Linked DNA regions of Homo sapiens: region 1 is linked to region 2. The links are contacts of gene promoters, found by promoter capture Hi-C in human tissues and cell types (Jung and others, 2019). All regions are on one chromosome and are shown on one strand. Each heading gives the region's core, a stretch centred on a gene start or on the middle of the fragment in contact. The rest is flanking DNA. Distances are from core to core; before and after follow the strand shown.

The links. The method cuts DNA at HindIII sites, captures the fragments that hold promoters and counts their contacts. A contact is called where the count stands out against the background at its distance.
Region 1: a fragment that was not itself captured here is called in contact with the fragment with the promoter of SYT10 in region 2 in 1 of the 25 tissues and cell types used here (dorsolateral prefrontal cortex).

What each region holds. Positions count from the first base shown.
Region 1 is chr12:33,378,088-33,382,330 of GRCh38, reverse strand. It overlaps SYT10 (synaptotagmin 10), which reads left to right. Exons shown (of 7, transcript NM_198992.4): 6 at 2,370-2,499. Among named protein-coding and RNA genes, the nearest start is that of SYT10, 60 kb to the left of the region's middle. The HindIII fragment of the contact is 5,901 bases long and covers 1-4,243 here.
Region 2 is chr12:33,436,935-33,441,598 of GRCh38, reverse strand. It overlaps SYT10 (synaptotagmin 10), which reads left to right and starts at 1,780. Exons shown (of 7, transcript NM_198992.4): 1 at 1,780-2,227. The coding sequence starts at 2,077. RefSeq lists an enhancer at 2,053-2,869. The HindIII fragment of the contact is 9,708 bases long and covers 1-4,664 here.

The DNA.
Region 1 (4,243 bases), core at 95-2,594, 59 kb after region 2:
TCACTGAAGAGCAGCCATGTCTAGTCATGCGCAGGCCAAACTCAGCTTTTCAGGTCATTTACTGCCACAACAGTTTTAATTTAAATTGGAGGAGGGAATAATGATTCCTTGAAAATTCATTGTTTTCTGTGTTATAGTTCTGGATTTTCATTTCCAAAAGAAGTCATCTTTAAATTAAAATTCACCGGGGACTGGTGAAAGAATGGGTCCAGAAGTAGTATAGAACATATTCAAGAAAGCACTATTGTGGAGTCTTTTTATAGTAACAACAGAGATTACAATCAACAGAATTTGTTTTACCAACTAGGCTGGAATATGAATATCATGATGCTTACCCGAGTTCTATCATTAACTAGCTGCATGAGAGGACATGTTACATAATCACTTTGAGAATCACTTTTCCCATTTGTAAAACTTAAGCATCATACAGAACTGTGAACAACGAGGAGTAAGAGTGGAAAGTGAATAAGTAGTCATAAGGATACAGCTTTGATGCCTTCACATCAATCTTAAAGCATTGCTTTATGGATAGTTCTTCCAGATCACACTCTTTGAGTCACTCCTGCTTTCATGAAAACATTGCAACCTCCCCTATGCAGCTCTGAAGATCCTTCCCACTGCAGCTCTTACCTTTGCCCTCCCACTCTCCCCGTTGCCTGGACTGTCCTCCAGCTTTGTGTATCATGTCCCACCAACACCCCACAGCCTGGCTTATGTCAGCACCTCTGTAAGTCTTGCTTTGCTGACCAATCCTCTTCTTCCTCTGAACTCTTGTCCCATCAATGGTTTATGTCTCTTATTTGGGCCTTACTATATACTTCCTCTTATTATTTTGCCCTTTATATTTATAAAATCTTTGGAAATGAATACTTGTGTTTTTAACCTACAAAATTATCAACACATAAACAGTACCTTAGTATATTTATTTTGTTCTAAAACGCACAAACACACGCTAAGTGTCCATTTTATAGTATCATCACCAGGACCCTGTAACTGAGAGATATTAATGTGCTCTCCTCTGGCTTAGAGCTAGGGGGGGAAACACTGAAAAATAACATTTGCAAGCACTGTCTACTAGAAATGAATTTATAATTTTTAAAAAATTTTAACTTGTGACTACTATTTAGAAAGAGAGAGCGAACTCTTGAATCCATTGAAATTTCAAACTAAAAAAGTTGCAGATGTTTTCATCAGGGGCCCTATTCTGCTTTGCCAATTACCCCTATTGATTTCTCACAGCAATAAGTGTAGGTAGATACAACTGAGCATTTGTCACTGGGGCAATTTTAGGGAAATGGATGCTAACAAGATATACACAGGAAGACAAAATTTTTGTACCTAAAAACATGCTTGTTTGGGAAATTTCATATTAAAGAAAATAATACTACATATACATATCTACATCAATGATGGAAAAAAAAGTAATGAAATTGTTCTAAAATCATCTCAAAAGTATCTTTGGAGATGTCTGTCAAAATTGAAACTCCTTTCAATGACATTCCATTCTTGAGAAGCAACTTAACCACAAGTGCTCTTGAGCCAACAACTCCTTTGATTCAGCTCCTGTCTCTGCCTCTTACTAAGTGTGTAAAGTCTGGCCAGCTCCTAATCTTCTGGGCATTTAGTTTATTCATAAAATGAGAGAATGATAATAATGATATTCATGGTCATGGTGGGGGAATTAATTGGGTCAGTACATTTAAACTACCTAGAACACTGGCACATAATAAGCTCTCAAAAATATTAACTGTTATTATTATCATCTTGATTCATTGCTATGAAAGCAGGACCTGAATAGAATATACAAATGTTGTCCAGTATGTTTTCTGTTATGCAAAAATAAATCACATGCCATGCAACTGAACATAATCCTGCCCTATTTAATTGTAATGCAAGTGGTAACACACTGAGGTATCATTTAGAGTCAATTAAAGAAAATTGGTACTGCTGTATTTCTTGGTGAGAAATCTAAACATCGTTATAAAACATTAAGCTTTGTGGAAAGAACAAGATTTGTTTTACATCACTTGTATTAAATAAGACTGCTTCCAAGAAAGACACTCATCATATAGGTAAAGACCTACTGGTATTTCTCATTCATGCCATTTTTATTATGATGAAATGTGCTTAAACTACAAAGCACTGAAATGGTTTGTGTGTGCCTCTTATACACATTCATTTTTTGAATGTTGATACTGTTTAGTAAATGTTGATTTACTTAAGAGATTTCATTCGGTCTGAAGTAGCATAATCTGCAAAATTACAGAATCTAATGTTTTAATCATATTTTTAAAATTCTACTACGATTTGTGAAACCCCCTTTATCTTTGAATGTTGGAAATGAAAATATAATATCCCACAAATCATAGGGTAGGACACAATGAGGTCATAGGAGTGTGCAGAACAGGACTGGATGCTGAGGGTCTTGGGCGAGACCACTGGAATGAAATGCTGGCCTATCATCGAAAACCAATAACGCACTGGCACCCATTGCTGGAGGTAAGCTTGTGAGTTCCTTACGTCTGCTCTTTTTGTTGTCTCTTTTGCTTAAATATTATTTATTTGCTAACCTTTATCTGATATTTTATGTATTCACCCTTGTTAAAAAAAATAGAAAAGATTGTTCTTGCTTTTGTCCCACATTGTCTAACATTTAATATTCAAAGTTCTGTGTGCCTTCCTGGATTTTAAAAAACACTACATTTTCTGGGCTTCATATTCTTTTGGACAGTAAGCCATTTGCAAGTCTCTTTTTTTTTTTTTTTTTTTTTTTTTTTTTTTGCATAGCCTGAAAACTTACATCAGTGAGTGCTGGAGCAATCTAATAAGTTTATTACTAACTGGAAACTGCATTTTTGTCCTTCTCTTCTGTAAAAAACAGCCACCTTACCTAAAGTGTTCCACAATCCCTAAATAAAGGTGCTGTCACCTAATATAACTTTTCTGCGTAAGGGGAAAGATATGTCTCCCTCAGCTCTGGTCAGGAAGTAAAACTGCCCACAGGTTTTTAAAATATTGGGGTGTCAGTTTAGTCGAGTTCAAGGCCTGGCTCTGCTGTGTGACTGCTTATTGTGAAACCTCGGGCAAGTTACTTTACCCTCTGTGTTTCTGCTATGACTCTGAAATAGTGGTAAACTCAGAGTAAAACTAAAGAAATGATGAATATTAAGTGCTTAGTGCTTCTTGTTCTGGCACTAGGGACTGGATTGAATGGGAGAGGCTGTGCAGTATCCCATTGACTAAATATCAGTGGGACGAGGTTCTAATCTCAGTTTAGTCACAAAAAAAGTGACCTTGGCTTTGTTACTCAGGACGTGTTAAGGGAAATAGGATGAACACCAAATGAGCATTGCATGCTCACACAGGTGAACTGTCATCGTCAATATCTGTTTATATGTGAATGCGTCAAGTCTTTATCTGACTTCATAATTTAGTATAAATCATAAAAGACAGACACACACACACACAAATGCATCTACAAACACACACACACACACACACACACACACACACACAGATACCCAGTCACTTGGTGTTTTCCCCTAGAACTTTATAAGTATAGACGTGTATTCTCTGAGTAGCTCACGGCTTGGAAAGTTATTATTTGTTTCAACAGTGGATGTTGTCTAAAGTACACTTTACTGCTTATTGTATAATTAGTATTCTTTTCCTGGTTCTGATCTTTTCTTAAGTATGAAAAGTGAACATTAATTCTAAAAATCTAAAAAGGAGAGTAAAGCCATGTTGGGCAGGAACTCACTCTGAATGGAGAGGTGGATTCTAATTTTGTTTCTCTGGCTGTCTACTTCTGAGCAGCCTGTTCACTACGTCTCCAACTACACTTCTCCATATTTAACAAAAATAGAACTGCATGCCTCTACCGGCTTCACAGGGATGATGCAGGGAGAAGTGAGATAATGTGAGCAAGAACTCTCAAGGAATGAGAGAAAGGTGCTTTATGACCCAAGGCATATTAATTATTTATTAGTGCTTAGTAAGCAGCTTTACTTTTCTCTGATGAAGGGGAATTATGTAATAGGCACATGTTTGTGTTTGAGAATGTGTAGACACTTTTTTGTCGTAACTGAATATACAGGAAGATAAGCTACAATATAGTCATCAGAAAAAGATCCCAGATAGTTATTGAGAACAAGATTGTGTAAATGTACATTCTCCAGCAAAATAGCTCCTTTTAACCCCTGCTCCTACATTCACTAGTCAAACAGAATATACGGACTAGGGA
Region 2 (4,664 bases), core at 531-3,030:
TTTTCAGAATTTGTTTACCTAATGTTTAACACTGAAATCAAACACAAGAGGGTCATTAGGGAGACCTTCTGCATTACTCCACTTAAGCAATTAGAATCTGTAAGTAGTATAAAGATAATTACTCATTTGGTCCTCCTACACAGCAATTAGTTCATATGGTAAATATGAAAGTACAGCATTGCATTGCAGGCTGTTTTCTACCGGTCTGTCTGTGTAGACTGTAGCAGAATGGGGGGCAAAAGGCAATTGGAAAGGGCCTTATTAAAGTGTGTTATTTAGTTTTGTGCATACAGTAGATGTTTAATATTTTTTGATTGACAGTGAAATTATTTCTTTAGACAATTTGACTTAAAAACCACCCAAGTCAGTGTGCATAAAGACAAAAACCAAATGAAGCCTGCAGATTTTAGTTTGTCTTAATTCGTGGTAAAAATAGTCCTAGTTAAACCAATCGTCCTATGGATCAGGTCAAAATGATTCAACTAATGAATGCTTCCCTACTGGAGTGCTATGCCTAATATTTATACTAGGTTTACCATAGTCCTGTGCAAAGCAAATAATTTACCATGAACTGATTAGCTGTTTTTAAAAAAGACTACTTATTCTACTAGCATAGACACGCTAACAAGTTCAATGTATCCCACTTCAAAAATAAAGAATCCCTCATCACAAGAGGGTTAAATCAATCCTCAGGTTATGATATGGGATCAAACTCTGCCCGAAAACAGTTTAAAAACCATATAAACATATTATATCCTGAAGCCCATGTTTATTATTTTGTCGCTTTAGTTCTACTGATTTGCACCCATTTGCATTAAAGAATTATAAAAACAGGTGAGCTTAAGACATCCGAGTCCAAATCTCCCATTTTACAGACTCAGGCAAAGACCCGAAAGCAGGCCGGCCGTGGTGGCTAGTGCCAGCATTTTGGGAAGCTAAGGCGGTAGGATTGATTGAGCCCAGGAGTTCGAGACCAGCCAGGGCACCATAGTGAGATCCTTGTCTTTACAATAAGTTTAAAAAAAAAAAATAGCGCCTGGAGTCCCTGGAGTCCTAGCTACTAGGGAGGCTGAAGTAGGAGGATCGCCAAGACCTGAAAACAACTTCAAGGTTAGGCTGAGATGTGTGACAGATTTGAACTTAATCCTGTTCCCTTTAACACCCATGTCTTGTTTTAAGTCGCTAAGAAAGGAGATGGAGGGAGTCAAGTTGTGCATTCTCAATCGCCAATTACGGATTAATCGACAGAATCTTATCTGATTATTAGTACAAATAACATTTTATTTTGTGATCTACCTAAGAGGGTTTGCTTATTCACGCATTCTTTTTTCTAATTAACTTTTTCAGTTTTTCTTCGATTGGGATGACTTTTCCAGAAGGGCAGAAGCAGATAGCACAGAAAGTAGAATACATCCGTGGAAAAGTTGGAGAGACAAAGGCGGCGGGGATGGCTGCACTGATGCAGGGAAAAGTATTGGGAAAACGGAGAGGGCTCCTCGGGCCAACTCTGGGCAACGATGAGCATCCCCGGCCTCGGCAGGGGCGCCGGGCCGCCCGCCCTCCCTCCCTCCCTCCCTCGCGAGTCCCTTCTTCAGAGGACGCGGGGAGCCGGGTCTGCGCGCTCCGCCGCCTGTCACCTAGCGCCCGCGCCGGGCTGCGATTGGACGCGTCGCCGCCAGGCACCCGCCAGAAACACCAGTGCGCTGGGGAGAGGAGGGGGGCGTGCTTGCGAGTCGAGGGCTTGCTTTGGCTTTTTTACGGCTCCCCCCTCCCCTCAGCACTCCATGCCGGGTCTCTAGTTCCAGCGCGCCTCGGCTCGCTCGCGCGGCGGGAGAGTTGGCGCAAACCTCGCGGCAGCCGCAGCCTCCTCGCGCGCCTCTCCTTCCCCTACGCCCTCCGCTCCCGCCATGGGGCCAACGTGGGGCTCCTAAGAGTTGCCGGCTCTCAGCGGCGCAATCTCCAGCCAAAGTCACCGCGGGCGGACTATGGCTTAGGGCGCCAGAGGGGTTAGAGGTACGGGAAGAGGAAAAGACGGCTAACTGGGAAAAAAAGAGAAAACGAAAGAAAAGCCAAACGATGAGTTTCCACAAGGAGGACGGAGTGAACAGTCTGTGCCAGAAGGCTCTGCACATCGTCACCGAGCTGTGCTTCGCCGGCCAGGTGGAGTGGGAGAAGTGCTCGGGCATCTTCCCTCGGGACAGGGGCAGCCAGGGCGGAAGCAGCACAGGTAACCGGGAGGGCTCCGCTCGCGTCCTCGCGCTCCGCTGGGACCCCGCGCGCTAGGCTGCAAGCTCCGGGGTTCTGCGCCTCCCGCGCCGCTCCCGCGGCATATTTGGGGCGCCACGCTTTCCTACCTCGCTCCTTCCTTCGCTCAGCTCCTGACGACTTCGAGGGTGGGGCGTTTGGGTTTTGTTTCCTCCTGTCCACCTGCCGGGCTTCTCCCATTCTCTGGTCCGCTTCCCGCCTCCCGGCGCCGTCTCCCGCTCCCAGCCTCGCCGCGCCTCTCCGCGTTCTCCCACGCCTCCCATCTCCCTCCCGGAGTGGAGAAGTGAGTGCGGGCGGTGACGGCGCCGGGACGGCTCGCGGCTTGGCTGCTTGTGGGGGCGGCTCACCTGTGGGACTAGGGCTGCTCTCGCTCGTTCCACCGGCCGCTGGTCCCGGCCTTGTTGATGGGGGCCAGGCGGGACGGACAAGCCATGCTTGGACGCAGAACTCCCTTGCAGAGGTGGCTGCCTTGGCCTCCGAGGTAACCCGCGGCTGCAACCTGTCGGGCACCTGACAATTTCTAAAGCCCTTTTAATATATATGATTTTCTAGGGTTTCATGACAAAGTTGGTAAAACAAGGATTATTGATCCCATTTGTGAGGCGACACCTAAAGCTCAGAGCACATATCGAAGAAGTGGAAGAGAGGGGAGACGTTTAAAATCCCTAGCACACGCACGCTCTCAGACATCCAACTCACAGACGTCCTCCCTACCCTTCAGGAAACTAGGAAATGGGCTGGATGCAGGAGGATATCGACCGTCGGAAATCTGGAGATGGAAAAAAGTCTCAAGTGGATTTTCCTCAAGGCTTGGGGGTGGAAAGGATCGAATCCAAGCCACTGTTTGGGTCACGGTTGGGGAAAAGGTTGGTGTGTCCAGCCTGCTGTGCTCCTCGGGCGCACGCGAGGTGGATCCCCGAGTTGCGGGCTGCGTGGTTTCAAGAGCCGCTTGAGAGGGTCACTTGTTGCACTAGGAGTCAAAAAACACTGCTTTGGGGATTTTCGACTGGAAGGTTGCCATTCCTTCTCTAGGTTCTTTCCCTTTGCTTTTCCTGTCATTTTGATCTCCTGGCGGGATTTTAAGAGTTGAAGGTAGTCAGGGCAACAAGAGCTGGACAGCCAAGCTCAGGACAACATGGAGCCCTGCGTGCTGGGAGGGAGCAAAGCGGGGCACACTTAGTGAATCCTCTCCACCACCACCCCTGCGTCAAAGCCAAGCGGGGAGTGGGAATGGGTTTAGTTTAGCTTTTACATTCCATCGTTCACATGGGTAGCTGCAGGGTTTGGTATTCTCTGATCCACGGCAACGTGAGCCAAGGGGGCTCTGTCTGCACTTGGCAGAGCTTGAAGATATGCCGCTGCTTGGACCCTGGATAGGGAAACTTTAAAATTTTCTCAGTGTATAAACACAACTGAGAATCATTTCCATTCGTTCAGTAGGTGTTAAATTCCTAGGAGTGTATGAAACTCAGTGGAAGGCACTGTGTGAGCATGTTGTATTCTGTGTCGTGCGTATCGTTGCTAAGTATGAGGTAAAGACCAGAATAGTGTGACCTCAGAGTCCTCTGTGGTGATATTAGATAAGCTTTTCTGAAACGTCTTTAGTGACCCACTTGCTAAAGGTAACACTCAGAGAAGGGGCTACACTGGACGAAATGAGAGTATTTAAGTTTGAAGATTGTGCTTTGGTAATTGAACAGTTGATGCTGTAAATAAAACTACTGATTTTCCTCTTTCCTGCCCTTTTGTGATCACACACCAAATAGTGGTTTCCCGGGTCTCAGACTGGCTGGTAATGAGGAAAATATGTGGAAGTTAGAAACCAAATCCCAGCTCTGAAATCTGTCCAAAATGCACAACTGTATCAGCTTCAGATAAACTATAGTATATGAATTATAGAAATAGTTCTCAGTTTTTCCTAATCACTGCAAGAAGTAGTTGTAGTCTGAATTCCTTTTGAACTTTTCCCCTTGGGAATAAAAAGTGAGAAAAATTAGTCTAAAACAATTGCAAGAATATTTTCCTCCCCTTAAGAGGCAAAATAGACTACATAATATATACAAGTGGGGTATTCGATTTATAATATAGGAACACACATATTTATTGGCTATTACTAGGAAAGATATTCTACTAAGTTGTGTATGACATATAAAGACAAGATTGCTATACGTTTTTCATTTGCGAATCCAAGCAACAGTTAGAAGTAAAATACTTTAATCTGCAAATAGACACTCAAAGTTAATAGATATCTATGAAGTGGATTTAAAGATTGTTTGCCAAATATTTAATTATATTTCTTAGCCACCCAGCGTCACACTGTTCTTTAAAGTAGATTTTCTTATAACTTGTGCTCTCATGCTTGTTATTATAGGTTCCTAAATAAAGCACTTCCAGTGATC